3 separate regions of the Homo sapiens genome follow, and regions 1 and 3 are each linked to region 2. The links are contacts of gene promoters, found by promoter capture Hi-C in blood cells and fetal thymus (Javierre and others, 2016). All regions are on one chromosome and are shown on one strand. The core of a region is centred on a gene start or on the middle of the fragment in contact, and the rest is flanking DNA. Distances in the headings are between cores, read along the strand shown. Region 1 overlaps DCUN1D5 (defective in cullin neddylation 1 domain containing 5). Region 2 holds the start of KBTBD3 (kelch repeat and BTB domain containing 3). Region 3 overlaps BIRC3 (baculoviral IAP repeat containing 3).

What was found. The method cuts DNA at HindIII sites, captures the fragments that hold promoters and counts their contacts. A CHiCAGO score of 5 or more calls a contact.
Region 1: a fragment that was not itself captured here is called in contact with the fragment with the promoter of KBTBD3 in region 2 in 1 of 17 cell types (M0 macrophages); the score reaches 5.5 in M0 macrophages.
Region 3: a fragment that was not itself captured here is called in contact with the fragment with the promoter of KBTBD3 in region 2 in 1 of 17 cell types (naive CD8 T cells); the score reaches 6.3 in naive CD8 T cells.

The regions. Positions count from the first base shown.
Region 1 is chr11:103,074,793-103,079,065 of GRCh38, forward strand. The region is part of intron 4 of DCUN1D5 (defective in cullin neddylation 1 domain containing 5); the gene reads right to left. Among named protein-coding and RNA genes, the nearest start is that of DCUN1D5, 15 kb to the right of the region's middle. The HindIII fragment of the contact is 1,326 bases long and covers 1,686-3,011 here.
Region 2 is chr11:106,075,442-106,080,173 of GRCh38, forward strand. KBTBD3 (kelch repeat and BTB domain containing 3) reads right to left here and starts at 1,906. Exons shown (of 4, transcript NM_198439.3): 1 at 1,871-1,906; 2 at 1,066-1,266. It overlaps AASDHPPT (aminoadipate-semialdehyde dehydrogenase-phosphopantetheinyl transferase), which reads left to right and starts at 2,221. Exons shown (of 6, transcript NM_015423.3): 1 at 2,221-2,452; 2 at 4,026-4,251. The coding sequence starts at 2,270. RefSeq lists enhancers at 1,699-1,818, 1,829-1,938, 2,249-2,488. The HindIII fragment of the contact is 8,387 bases long and covers 1-3,676 here.
Region 3 is chr11:102,317,891-102,322,651 of GRCh38, forward strand. BIRC3 (baculoviral IAP repeat containing 3) reads left to right here. Exons shown (of 9, transcript NM_001165.5): 2 at 3,947-4,761. Among named protein-coding and RNA genes, the nearest start is that of BIRC3, 2.8 kb to the left of the region's middle. RefSeq lists enhancers at 1-240, 386-585, 846-895, 1,766-1,845, 2,467-2,576. The HindIII fragment of the contact is 808 bases long and covers 2,282-3,089 here.

The DNA of each region.
Region 1 (4,273 bases), core at 1,099-3,598, 3.0 Mb before region 2:
GTCTTATGCGGAAATTGTGATAATTCATAAATTAATCTTAAAGGGTCTGATTCTCAAGTTCATTTTTTAAGATTGATTTCTCAATGTTTAGTGATTTCTGATTATAAACTAGTGATCACGGAACCTTTTTCTGCAAAAATTGAGGTTTGTGTAAAATTTCTCTATGGAAGAACTGCTTCCATTACAAACAGGGGAGTCTTATTCTAAAACACATTTTTGGCTTGGGTCAGATAGTGAATTCCAGCCCCAAATCTGCAAGACAGAAGATGGAGGACGAGGAATTCTCTCAGGTAGAAGCCCTTTACCTCTAATTGTGTGTAAAACCAGGCCCAGGTTATCAAATTTCCACTTATTGCATAAGTTTGTCATCAATGTTTTTAATCTGATTCCCATCCTATTAAGGTCTTGCTTGAAATGTGTCCTCTGTTCTCAACATGCATGACATGTCAACAACCAGACCCTAGGTGACTAGGAATAGGTAGGTTTCTTCAGGGTAAATGTCAGCTCCATAGATCTCTATGTAATCACCATCACTCATCATTTCTGGCCTCTGATTATTTTCCTTACAGGCAAGTCCAAGTGTACTTTTAAAAAGTTTTTTTTTTTTGAGATGGAGTCTCACTCTGTCGCCCAGGCTGGAGTGCAGAGGTGCAATCTCAGCTCACTGCAACCTACGCCTCCGGGGTTCAAGTGATTCTTCTGCCTCACCCTCCCGAGTAGCTGGGACTATAGGCGCATGCCACCATGCCCAGCTAATTTTTGTATTTTTAGTAGAGACGGGGTTTCACCAAGTCAGCAAGGCTAGTCTCAAACTCTTGACCTCATGATCTGCCCGCCTCAAACCCCAAAGTGCTGGGATTACAGGCGTGAGCCACCGGGCCTGGCCAAGATGTTTTTATATGTTATCCAGCATTTAAGCGTTTTACATGAGAAATGGTTTCTCCACACATTTAGTAGCCATATTGCCAGAAATGGAAATCAAAATTTGGATAAGTTAACCAGAATTCCTTATATATGAATGAATGCACAATATGCTTGATGAGGAAACAAGAAAAATTTATTCTTACTTATTAGAAATTCATTACCTACTATTTCACTAAGTGGTTTCTGTTAGTGCAAAAATTATTCATTATGTGAAAAATAATGCTTTAATGAAAGTTGACTTCTACCATGGGGATATGCAAAGCAAATTTCTCAGATTACATGCCACTATAATGTTTGAAAATATGGAGATGAAGTCTTCATAATGTGAGTCACATCTTTCATACAAAATCTCACACAGAATCTTAACAGGCTTGAGACTTAAGTGTTAAGGGGGCAAAGAAGATAAAGGATGCCTCCTGACATTCAAAGTTCTTTCTTTCCTTACCATCAGATTTAAAAAATCACTGTCATAGCATAACACAGGACCTGACATATAGCACTCCAAAAATATTTGTTAAATAAAAGTGTGACCACCAAAAATAAACCACAGGGTAGGTGATATATTTATTTAATTATATAATGTTTCAAAATTCCTATCTGGGAGAAACTTAGTGGTAAATGGTAGATCAAACAAAATCACAAAGCACATAGTGACTGAGAAGTCACTAAGGAGATAAGAATCCAAGATATTATAATATTTTCCAAATATTTTACATTTCATGGGTACACAAAGTTACTATCTTACTTATGTAATTTCAATAAGCTTAAGAAATAAAGTGAAGGGAAGAACAAATTTTCAAGTCAAACAGATTGGTTAAAATTCTAGCTTCTCTATTTCTGGTCATGTGGCTTTCAGCAAGTTACTAAACCGTTTTCAGCCTGTTTCCTCATTTTTAAAACGACGATAATAATTTAATAGGACAACTATATGGCAAGTTACTTAACCTTTTTCAGCCTCAGTTATCTGATTTTTAAAATGGTAACAATAATAATTTCATAGGACAACCATAAAGATTAAATGAGAATCCATGTGTTAAATGCTTAGCACAGTCCTTGATATGCTTCTTTTGAGGCAAATGGATTAAAAATCACCTACACTACACACCTTGGTAGAAACTACGTCATACCATTCCTAATGGTCTACTGTAAATCTTGAGCAGAGAAAGAATCCAACAGACTTTTTTGTAGTAAAAAAAGAATAGGCCAGCACGGTGGCTCACGCCTGTAATCCCAGTACTTTGGAAGGTCGAGGCGGGTGGATCACGAGGTCAGGAGATCAAGACCATCCCGGCTAACATGGTGAAACCCCGTCTCTACTAAAAATACAAAAAAAATTAGCTGGGTGTGGTGGCGGGTGCCTGTAGTCCCAGCTACTCAGGAGTCTGAAGCAGGGGAATGGCGTGAACCCGGGAGGCGGAGCTTGCAGTGAGCCGAGATCGCGCCACTGCACTCCAGCCTGGGAGACTGAGCAAGACGCCGTCTCAAATAAAAAAAAAAGAATAAGAGCACAAACCTCCATATTTATTAACAGTATCATGAAGACTGTGAACACATCTGGCAAAACCAACATACCGAAGCAGTTACTAACAGCAATACAATTTTTATATCGAATCTAGCTCCAAAATACTAACATCAATACCTCAGAAATTGGGAAGTTTAGAAAAAAGAATATTTCCTCCGAAATAAAAAGAAATGCATACTTAACTAGCGTACTATGGAAAGCAAGAGATAGTTTTCCAAATAACAACCAAATAAAACCACACAGATTTGAGGGAACACTGGCACAATACAATACACCATTCTCCAAGGCCACTGTAGTTAGAAAGAGAAGAAATGGGTATTAATTTCAACGTTAGGACTCGGAAATTAATTTCCTGGTATTGCTAAGCAACTGATTACAAAGGGAGGCTTTTGAACTTGTGTTTCATTAAAGACCTTTAAAGTGAGAAGAAAGTTTCATGCATGTATTAGATGTAAGTGAGGCTCTCTTCCTAATCCATAAGTCCCAGTGACTGTGCTGTGACACATTGATGTGTAACACGAAGAATTGTGTCACAAAGTTCTGGATTTAGAACTTCCTCTAAATAAGCTTTCTCAACCAGAACAATACCATCTACTTCTAGGGGTATTTGAAAATGTGCAGAGGGGCATTTTGAAATTGTCATAATGACCTTAAGAGAGAACAGAGGGAAAGGATGCTAATGGCAATTAGTAGTTGGGCCCCAAATGCTAAATGAATGACAGTCACATCACACACGATGGCATTTCATTTACTCTCCTCTTCCACCCCCACCAAAAAAAAAAATCATATAAATGTTCCCTATTCCCCTCTCGCTAAGACGGTCAAGCCATGCCATTCCTTTTACACTTCAAAGTCCGGGGCTCAATAGAGACTAGATTTACAAACTGCAACCTACCGGCAGGCAGCTTAATTACTATCACTGTTGTCAGATGCTCTTGTCTTGTCCTTTTCATTATCATAATCAAGTACGGTCCTCTTCAAAGGTCTATATTCAGTTTTCTCCACTGGTATAGTATTTCACCCTTGCTCCAACACCAGACTTTCAGCTAGCAGATATGAGAAAAGACCTCCACTCTAGTACACTATGCCAGAACAAAAACTCGCCAAGTATCCTTGAAACCTCGTATCTATAGACGAAGGAAGAGAAATTCCATAACCTCCTGAGAGCACATCAAATTTTTGTGTCTAGCAGTACATGTGCCTCTTAATGGGAACGAGGTCCATAGTTCTCATAAGACTCTCAAAAGAGACTGTGACTTTAAAATATTAAAAACAATTGCTCATTGAAAATTATCCCCCAAATCTTTTAAAATTCCTGTGCTTTAAAATCTCTGATGGTTTCCCAATATCTGTAACATAGATTTAAACTCTCTCAACGTATTAGCTAAAGCACTCTACAGTGAAGCCATCACTCAAAATATTAGAATTCAAAACCTATCCTGGCAATTTTTTTATGTACTTTACAATTTTAAGAAATCAAACTACTTCCTTCAAACATATGCTTTCCTTCCTCAAGGTCCTGCTCACAATTTCCCTCTTCTGAAACATTTTCCTGTATCCTCAACAAACAAAATCCTAATCATTCTTCATGTTCTAGTTCACAGGCCACACCTACATTTACCTACCTACTCAGCTGAAATTAACCTTACTCATCTGTGCTTTCATAGTATCTTGTATTTCCACTCTAGCACATGTCACGTTCTCCTTGGTTTATGGTTACAGCAAGGTGCCCAATGTCTGGGCTGAGCATAATTACCAGCCTGTGGCCTGTTAGAAACCAGGCTGTATAGCAGGAGGCAAGCGGCAGGCGAGTGAGCCAGCATATCC
Region 2 (4,732 bases), core at 656-3,155:
CCTCTCAAGTACTGTACATTCTATTTTGCAAGATAACACACATGAAAATAATTCAGGACAATAGGAGAGACGTCATAAGGCAATACTAGAATAACTGCCAAATGAATTACATAAACAATACTGTTTTGGAAAAAGGTACTCTGAAGTAGGCCCTAAGAGAAGGTTTAAGCTAAGCTCTGGAGAATTTGTAAAACCACACAGGGAAGGGGATTAAACAAACCTATAAAATATGTTCACAGGGTGATAGGTTTGGGGCTGAGGTTTGGAAGTGGAGAGAGTAAGCTATTTTAGACTAGGTGAACAGAGACATTCTGTTTGGTATGAGATTTGGGCCTGAATGATACAGAGGAAACAAGGAATGTGATAATGGGAGAAGGGGAGAATATTCTAGATTCTAGACCAAGTACAAATAATCCCTACGTTACTGTCTGTGTATTAGGCTCCATAGATCTAATACACAGAGATCTTGCTCGATGGTAAAATAATGGGATATGAATTCCTGAATTTAAACAAATTCTCTTTCTGAGCTCATTGTCTCCATCAGTAATAACTAGTGCACAGAACATGTGCAATAACGTACACAGAAGTGTTTTGGAAACAGAAACGTAATGTATCAAAGTTATAAAAATCAGTTTAAAACGACAAGAAGGAAAGGTTATATGATTCTTAGTTAAAAATGGAGAAGTGAGTTATGATCATTGCTGATATGGGTATTAGTATCACTTACGTATCTTTACACTGTCTCTTATTGTACTTTTTATGCGTATGATTTATTTGCCTTACCAGATTGTAAGCTCCCTGCAGCTGGTAAGCAGATTTTCAACATGGCAGCTGACACAGGCTTTTGGTTAGCTAAGATGATATATTAAGCCAATAATTCGTTTTACTGTCCTTTGGGGATCTGAATTTGTGTGTGTGTGTGCTCAGAATCCCATCTACTTTCGAGGGATTCGGGGGGCTTATGATATCACGAAAAGTTAATGAAGACAAGTATAGATAAAAACATAATAGAACCCATCTTAAATAGGACAGAAATCATAGGCAGGTAATTGTGTTAATTACTACCGCTGGCCTTTGGCTGATATTTCCGGGCAGTCAGAGGAAGAAGGAAATCGGCTGAATCCCGCAGTACCGCACTTTAATCGACCTCCAGGTAGTCATTTACAGTCATCTGCAGAGACCAACTTTTCCCTGGACCAAAACCTGCAGGGCACTTGGATCGCGTGGGCTTTCATACGAGAGTCAACAACAGCCTACACGGAACAACTAAGGAAACAGACATACATCAATATGACCCTTCGCAAAGTCTGAGAAAATAACTGAGCAAAGTTATTTACTTGTTTCTGTTGCTGTTAGAGCAAGGACCTCTGTCATGATGGAAACACTGATACCTCAACAATGGAATCCTGTTTTCTCGCTAGTGCTCTAGCCCAGGCTTGGCAATAGCAAAACAGCACCTGGGTCGCTTCATCGCCCCAAATAAACAGCCAGCATTAGCTCAGCTGCTCGCTGGCAGCCTCGGATCCAGGCGGGGTCAGTGTTGCGCACTGGGGATAGTGCCTCTGCTCGGCCTTCGGAGGGAGGGTTTCAGGTAGGCTGCTGCTAAGGGTCGGGAGCGTACTGTGTGAGGGTGGGTCTTAGGCTGATGCGGATGGGGGCAGGGAAAGAAGGAACTCAGGGCTGATGCGTTGCACAACTGCAGGGGGCACCACTGCAGACCCCCTCCTAGAGATGGAAACCTCTCGTGCCCCGTACACGAAGCAGCTGAAGCCAAGGACATTCTCTTCTCTGTGGGTCACAGGGGCCAACTCAGACCCTGAGAATAAGGGCTACCATCCCACTCCTCCCTCAGACCCCGGAGCTCACCCACCTGCAACTGCAGTCTCCGAAGTCTCCACCCCAGTCTCCCTGCCTCCAGAGGACTGGTTGCGATTGGCCTGCACCGCTGTCCCGTTAACTCTTCCGCAAGTGTGAGTGGCGTAACTGTCGGGCTCTTGGCCTTGGTCCCGCCCTTCGCTCGCCTCCGAAGCCTCGCCTACTTGACGTCATACAATGCCGCAAAGCGCAGGGCTGATCTCCGTCTCCGCCCCCAGCTGCTTTCTCCGAGAGGAGGTGGCTGAGTCGGGGGCGGGCTGGGAGGGCTGTCGGTGGGCCAGTCTGCGTAGCGACGGCCCGTCCCCTGCGCACGGACGCCGGGAAGAAGGGGGTGGGGCCACGTTTGCGTCCGCGCCATCAGGCCCGAGATAGCGGCGAGGTCCGCTTTCAGTGTATGGTTTTCCCTGCCAAACGGTTCTGCTTGGTGCCATCCATGGAGGGCGTGCGCTGGGCCTTTTCCTGCGGCACTTGGCTGCCGAGCCGAGCCGAATGGCTGCTGGCAGTGCGATCGATTCAGCCCGAGGAGAAGGAGCGCATTGGCCAGTTCGTCTTTGCCCGGGACGCTAAGGCAGCCATGGTACTACAGGTCTTTTTTGGTATTTAGAGCCTAGGAAGCAGATCTTGGGGGAGGCGGGCCGGGCTGTGGAGACCCGACACTCCCGCGCTGGCCGCGACCCTCTCGCTGTGGAGCCTGTGGCCGGCCCGGGCGACAGCAGCCGGCGCTGCGGAGTTGTGGGCGACGCACGGCCTGGTTTCCACGGCCTTTGTAACCGCCTTGGAGGCCGCGATGGCTGTAAACATTATCTCTTTCCCCTTGTTATTTCAAATGGAGACCCTCCTAAACCATGAAATAAGTGTAGGGAAGGCCGACAAAATTGGGTTTTTCTGTAATGAATGTTTTTATGTCTTTATCTTTAAATGTTATTTTTTTTTGTTTGTGTGCGTTCATAGCCTATGCTTATTCTGCCTGTTAAATATCCCATCATTCTCCAAGGACTCCCTGCACGTGGTAGGCCCTAGAAATTATTGACAGTATGATTTAGTTTGTAGCCCTGCGCTCCCCGGGATTGAAGCCAATGAAATTGAAGCCAGAGAGGATACCTTCCTCACTAGATGCCATGGGAAACAGTATTTTACGTAGATTTATTTATTTTAGCTATGTATTTTGAAGCAACAAATGGAAAACTGGATTTCAAAACAAGTAATCTGTACAATATGGTGCAATTTGAAACAACCGTGAATTACCATCATTTAAAAGACAGTCCTTTCTTAAAAATGTCCCATATTGAAACACTTTCTGTTTGAAATGTAGACTAGTTGATAATTTTTAAGGCACATTGGTGAAAATTTTTTACTCATTTGTAAGGAATTGTAAAATAAGCTACATTTAAAAGCCTGCAGTTTTTAAAAGTCAGTGTTAGAATTGAAGAAGAAAAAAACCTGAAAGATATTTTTAAAAATATATACTTTGTCATCTTATATTCTTGTTTTTTTGTGTGTGTGTTTTTAGTAATTATTTAAAAAATAATAATTGGAGGTGGGAGAGAGCAGAACAAGATAGGTCATGCCTTGCTAATTGTTGAAGCTGGGTGATCAATATATGGGATCTAGAAATACATATGCACAGATGTAGGTACAGTAGGGTTGCTCACTGCAGAGTTGTTTTTGACAGCAAGTCTAGAGCCAGCCTAAAATGTCCAATAAAGGGGAAATAATATTATGAAATATGCTACAGTTAAAACTGCATGGACCAGACGTGTGTGTACAGACATAAAATACTTCCCAATACTTATAAATTTAAAGCTTATATGTGGTAGAATACTGCATAAGTATAATCTCATGTTTGTGTTTATATGTAGAGTTAGCAAAAACATGTAAATGCACATATATTTAAATACAGAAAAGACTGACAGGATGCCAGCTGTTAACTTTGGTCACTAGCAAAGGAGAGGGAATTGCTAAGGCGGGCTTTAACTTTTTATCTACTTAAGCATTGCTTAAGTCTTAATTAACGTGTGTTTAATACTTAAGTATTTTGAAAAGTTTTAAAAATGAAAATTTTAGAAACCAAAAAAAAGTACTATTGCATACAGTGTGCTTGTATCTTTAGTAGACATCAGTACATACCAAATGTTTTATGTACTTAACAGGCTGGTCGTCTGATGATAAGGAAATTAGTTGCAGAGAAATTGAATATCCCTTGGAATCATATTCGTTTGCAAAGAACTGCAAAAGGAAAACCAGTTCTTGCAAAGGACTCATCGAATCCTTACCCGAATTTCAACTTTAACATCTCTCATCAAGGAGACTATGCAGTGCTTGCTGCTGAACCTGAGCTGCAAGTTGGAATTGATATAATGAAGACTAGTTTTCCAGGTAACGTTGCATTTTTCTAGTATGGCAGTTAAGTGTCTCGATGCCTCAGTTCTATTGCTATTGAGTAATCTCAGGCCAGGAGATGTATTAGAGATATTTCAGTTTAGGGAAAATGTGCTTAGTACACAAAGGTAATGGAGAGCATAAATCTGAAAAGGGTATATTTCCATGAATATTTACAGACTTACACATAAATAATAGATTATCCGTTACTGGGGATCCATAACTTTGCCTAGAGGTAAAGTGAAATATTAAGTGAAATTTTTTTTGAATTATACTTCAATTTATTTCACTTAAACATTAACCACAATTTTTCAGTTAATTGTTTGTTTTTTAAAAAAGAATCTGAATAGTAAAGTACATTGTAGTCCTTATGTAGAGATAACGTATACAGTTGACACATGAACAACACAAGTTTGAACTGCATGGGTCTACTCATGTGAATTTTTTTCAGTAGTTGGCCCTCTGTCCCCATAGATTC
Region 3 (4,761 bases), core at 1,436-3,935, 3.8 Mb before region 2:
CAAATAAATTTCAGGACAGAGCCTAAGGCAGAGCTCTGGCACAGGAAGGAAGTAAAACGTTTAATGAGCAAATGGACGCATGTTTCCAAGCGGTGGTAGGAAGACAGCAGTTTTTGGTTGTCTTCCTGGTGATCAGCATGGAAACCTAGTAGTGCTCTTACTCTGATCAATACATTGTCGAAGGCATGTACCTGATGCTAACGTAACAATAATATTAAATATTGACTTTATTTGCTATTATTTATTGCTAACATTAAGTACTGCTACCTGCTATGTGCTAGGTTTGTCTCTGAAGACTTTACATGTATTTTTCACGTTTAATTATCATAATCTTAAGAAGCAGGTACCATAATTATCTCCATTTGACAATGAGGAAACTGAGGCTCTTGGAGATTTACTTGTGCAAGGTCATGCTTCTGGTTACCGGACTGCTTGGTATTGGGCACCCCCGATGTCTGACTCCAAAGCCTGATACTAATCAATCACTGAGCTGACTCTGTGGTCATTAATATAAAATTGATAGAAGTACTGTGGTCACTCAGGTCTCAGTCATTTACTTCTTCAACGGGAAGTCTTCGTGTCTACCCCATATACCAAGCTCTGCAGATGCTATGAGTGGGAGGGCAGGTACAGAGATGAAACATATTAATAGTTGCCATTCTAAAAGAGCTTACTGTCTAGCGGGAGGCAGAAAGAAAAGGCACACTTGCCCTCCAGTGTCAGAAAAATGGATGTGCTGCATGCCCAAAGGGTAGGGATGCCCAACAGCCCTGGGACTGGGGAGGTTGCCTTCTTGGTAGGTTAAATGAATGAGTCAGAAGAGGAGAGGCTGGGGACTGAGCCAATCTGAGAAGGAACCACTAGAAATGAAAGAAGAATCCCAAGAGCTTGGTATCAGAGAAGCCCAGGGAATGGGACATTTCTAAGAGGAAGTGTGTCCCAGTGTCAGATGCAAACATTTCCATTGGTTTTAGCAAAAAAGCCATTGGTGTTATTAACACCGAAAGCAGTTTTAAGTGATGCTGACTTAATGAGTAAATGGGAGAGGGAAAATGGAGACATTAACCATACACACATGTCCAGTTTGCTTGGCTGTGAAGAGAAGGGGTGATACAGGGTAGTTGCTAGAGTGGAAAGTGTGGTTGAAAGAGGATTTTTTTTTTTTTTTTTTGAGACAGAGTCTCACTCTGTCACCCAGGCTGGAGTGCAGTGGTGCAGTCTCGGCTTACTGCAACCTCCACCTCCCGGGTTCAAGCGATTCTCCTGCCTCAGCCTCCTGAGCAGCTGGGACTACAGGTGCATGCCACCACACCCGGCTAATTTTTTGTATTTTTTTTAGTAGAGACGGGGTTTCACCGTGTTAGCCAGGATGGTCTCAGTCTCCTGACCTCGTGATCCACTCGCCTCAGCCTCCTGAAGTGCTGGGATTACAGGCATGAGCCACCACACCCGGCCGAAAGAGAATTTTAAAAATTTCTTTCATTTGAAAGTTGAGATAGATTTAAGCATGGTTATGTGAAAGGAAAAAGGCCAGTCGAGAGTGACAGGAATGAGAGTTGAAGCAATGAGGGGATGGGATTAAGAACAAGATTTCTGAGGCAGTAGGACAGTGTAGGATCCCATAAGGGGGCAAGTCTTTAACTGAGACAGCAAGTAGGTTGTGAGCCAAAACGGCTTGGATATGAGAACGTGAGAAGGTTCCTGCTCAATGATGTCTCTTTTCTTTGAGAAACAGAAGGCAAAGTAATTGACTGAAAATGAGATGGAGTGCAGTGGAGAAATTTGAGGAAGGTGTTGAAGGTTTAGAAGAGGTGCATAGGGCATGGGCTAGGGAGCTGAGCCTATTGCTAAGGGATGGCAGAGGAGTCTTAAGTGATGCTGGTCCCAGTCTGCAGGGTTGCATCTAGGTGTTGGAAATGATTAGGACAGAGGTTGAAGTGATCTAGGGTTGACATCTTGGCATATTTGTGTATATTTATTGTATAGTTGTTGCCTAAATTTCCACAAATATATGCCTTGCTGGAGTGCAGTGGTGTGATCTTGGCTTACTGCAACCTTCACCTCCCGGGTTCAAGTGATTCTCCTGCTTCAGTCTCCTGAGTAGCTGGAAATACAGGTGCGTGCCACCACGCCCGATGGTTTTTTTTTTTGGATTTTTAGTAGAGACAGGGTTTCACCATGTTGGCCAGCCTGGTCTCGAACTCCTGATCTCAAGTTATCTGCTTTCCTTGGCCTCCCAAAGTGCTGGGATTACAGGCGTGAGCCACCACGCCTGACCTAAAGCTTCTTTAGGATAAGATTTGTGTAAGGGGTTTGCAAACTCAAATGGAGGTGATATAAATGAGAAAAACTCTCAGTGTCTCTCTTTCTCTCTCTCTCTCTTTTTTTGAGACAGGGTCTTGCTCTGTCACCCAGTTTGGAGTGCAGTTATGCAGTCTCACACTGCAAGCTCTGCCTCATGGGCTCAAGTGAACCTCCTGCCTCAGCCTCTCAAGTAGCTGGGACCACAGGCAGGTGCCACCATGTCTGGCTAATTTTTGAGTTTCTTTGTAGAGATGGTGTTTTGCCAAGTCACCCAGTTTGAGGCTGGTCTCAAACACCTGGGCTCAAGCAATCCATCTACCTCAGCCTCCCAAAGTGCTGGGATTACAGGAGTGAGCCATGGCATGAGGCCTTGTGGGGTGTCTCTTTTAAATGAAAGCATACTCTGTTTACGTATTTGATATGAAGGAATATCCTTCCTTTCCACAAAGACAAAAATTATCCTATTTTTCTCAAAACATATGTCCTTTTTCTCTACTTTTCATTTTTGTTACTTTTGATGGACACATGTGTTACATTGATTTCACTTTCTCATAATTCTGCTGTAAGAAAAACAATAGTGCCAGTTCAATGACAAATAGCAACAGTCTGTTATTGCTAGACTGTTACTGTTAGTGGAGACTACCAGAACAGTCAGTCCCAGTGTCAGGGAATCAAAGAGAACATGTTCCCTCTCTAAAGGGCACAGCTGCTGCTCAGCTTTAGCTGATTGCTGCCCTGCAGGACTATAGGCCCAGTGTTGCTAGATCTTTTGATGTTTCAAGAGAAGCTTGGAATCTAGAATGTGATGGGAAGTCTCTTACATTTAAACATGTTGGCAATTAATGGTAAGATTTAAAAATACTGTGGTCCAAGAAAAAAATGGATTTGGAAACTGGATTAAATTCAAATGAGGCATGCAGATTAATCTACAGCATGGTACAATGTGAATTTTCTGGTTTCTTTAATTGCACTGTAATTAGGTAAGATGTTAGCTTTGGGGAAGCTAAGTGCAGAGTATGCAGAAACTATTATTTTTGTAAGCTTTCTCTAAGTATAAATAAATTTCAAAATAAAAATAAAAACTTAGTAAAGAACTATAATGCAATTCTATGTAAGCCAAACATAATATGTCTTCCAGTTTGAAACCTCTGGGTTTTATTTTATTTTATTTTATTTTTGAGACAGAGTCTTGCTGTGTCACCCAGGCTGGAGTGTAGTGGCACTATTTCGGCCCACTGCAACCTCCACCTCCCAGGCTCACATGATTCTCCTGCCTCAGCCTCCGGAGTAGCTGGGATTACAGGCGCGTACCACCACACCCAGCTAATTTTTGTATTTTTAGTAGAGATGGGGTTTCACCATTTTGGCCAGGCTGGTTTTGAACTCCTGACCTCAAGTGATCCACTTGTCTTGGCCTCCCAAAATGCTGGGATTACAGGCGTGAGCCACTGCACCAGGCAGAGGCCTCTGTTTTTTATCTCTTTTTGGCCTCTACAGTGCCTAGTAAAGCACCTGATACATGGTAAACGATCAGTAATTACTAGTACTCTATTTTGGAGAAAATGATTTTTTAAAAAGTCATTGTGTTCCATCCATGAGTCGTTTGAGTTTTAAAACTGTCTTTTTGTTTGTTTTTGAACAGGTTTACAAAGGAGGAAAACGACTTCTTCTAGATTTTTTTTTCAGTTTCTTCTATAAATCAAAACATCTCAAAATGGAGACCTAAAATCCTTAAAGGGACTTAGTCTAATCTCGGGAGGTAGTTTTGTGCATGGGTAAACAAATTAAGTATTAACTGGTGTTTTACTATCCAAAGAATGCTAATTTTATAAACATGATCGAGTTATATAAGGTATACCATAATGAGTTTGATTTTGAATTTGATTTGTGGAAATAAAGGAAAAGTGATTCTAGCTGGGGCATATTGTTAAAGCATTTTTTTCAGAGTTGGCCAGGCAGTCTCCTACTGGCACATTCTCCCATTATGTAGAATAGAAATAGTACCTGTGTTTGGGAAAGATTTTAAAATGAGTGACAGTTATTTGGAACAAAGAGCTAATAATCAATCCACTGCAAATTAAAGAAACATGCAGATGAAAGTTTTGACACATTAAAATACTTCTACAGTGACAAAGAAAAATCAAGAACAAAGCTTTTTGATATGTGCAACAAATTTAGAGGAAGTAAAAAGATAAATGTGATGATTGGTCAAGAAATTATCCAGTTATTTACAAGGCCACTGATATTTTAAACGTCCAAAAGTTTGTTTAAATGGGCTGTTACCGCTGAGAATGATGAGGATGAGAATGATGGTTGAAGGTTACATTTTAGGAAATGAAGAAACTTAGAAAATTAATATAAAGACAGTGATGAATACAAAGAAGATTTTTATAACAATGTGTAAAATTTTTGGCCAGGGAAAGGAATATTGAAGTTAGATACAATTACTTACCTTTG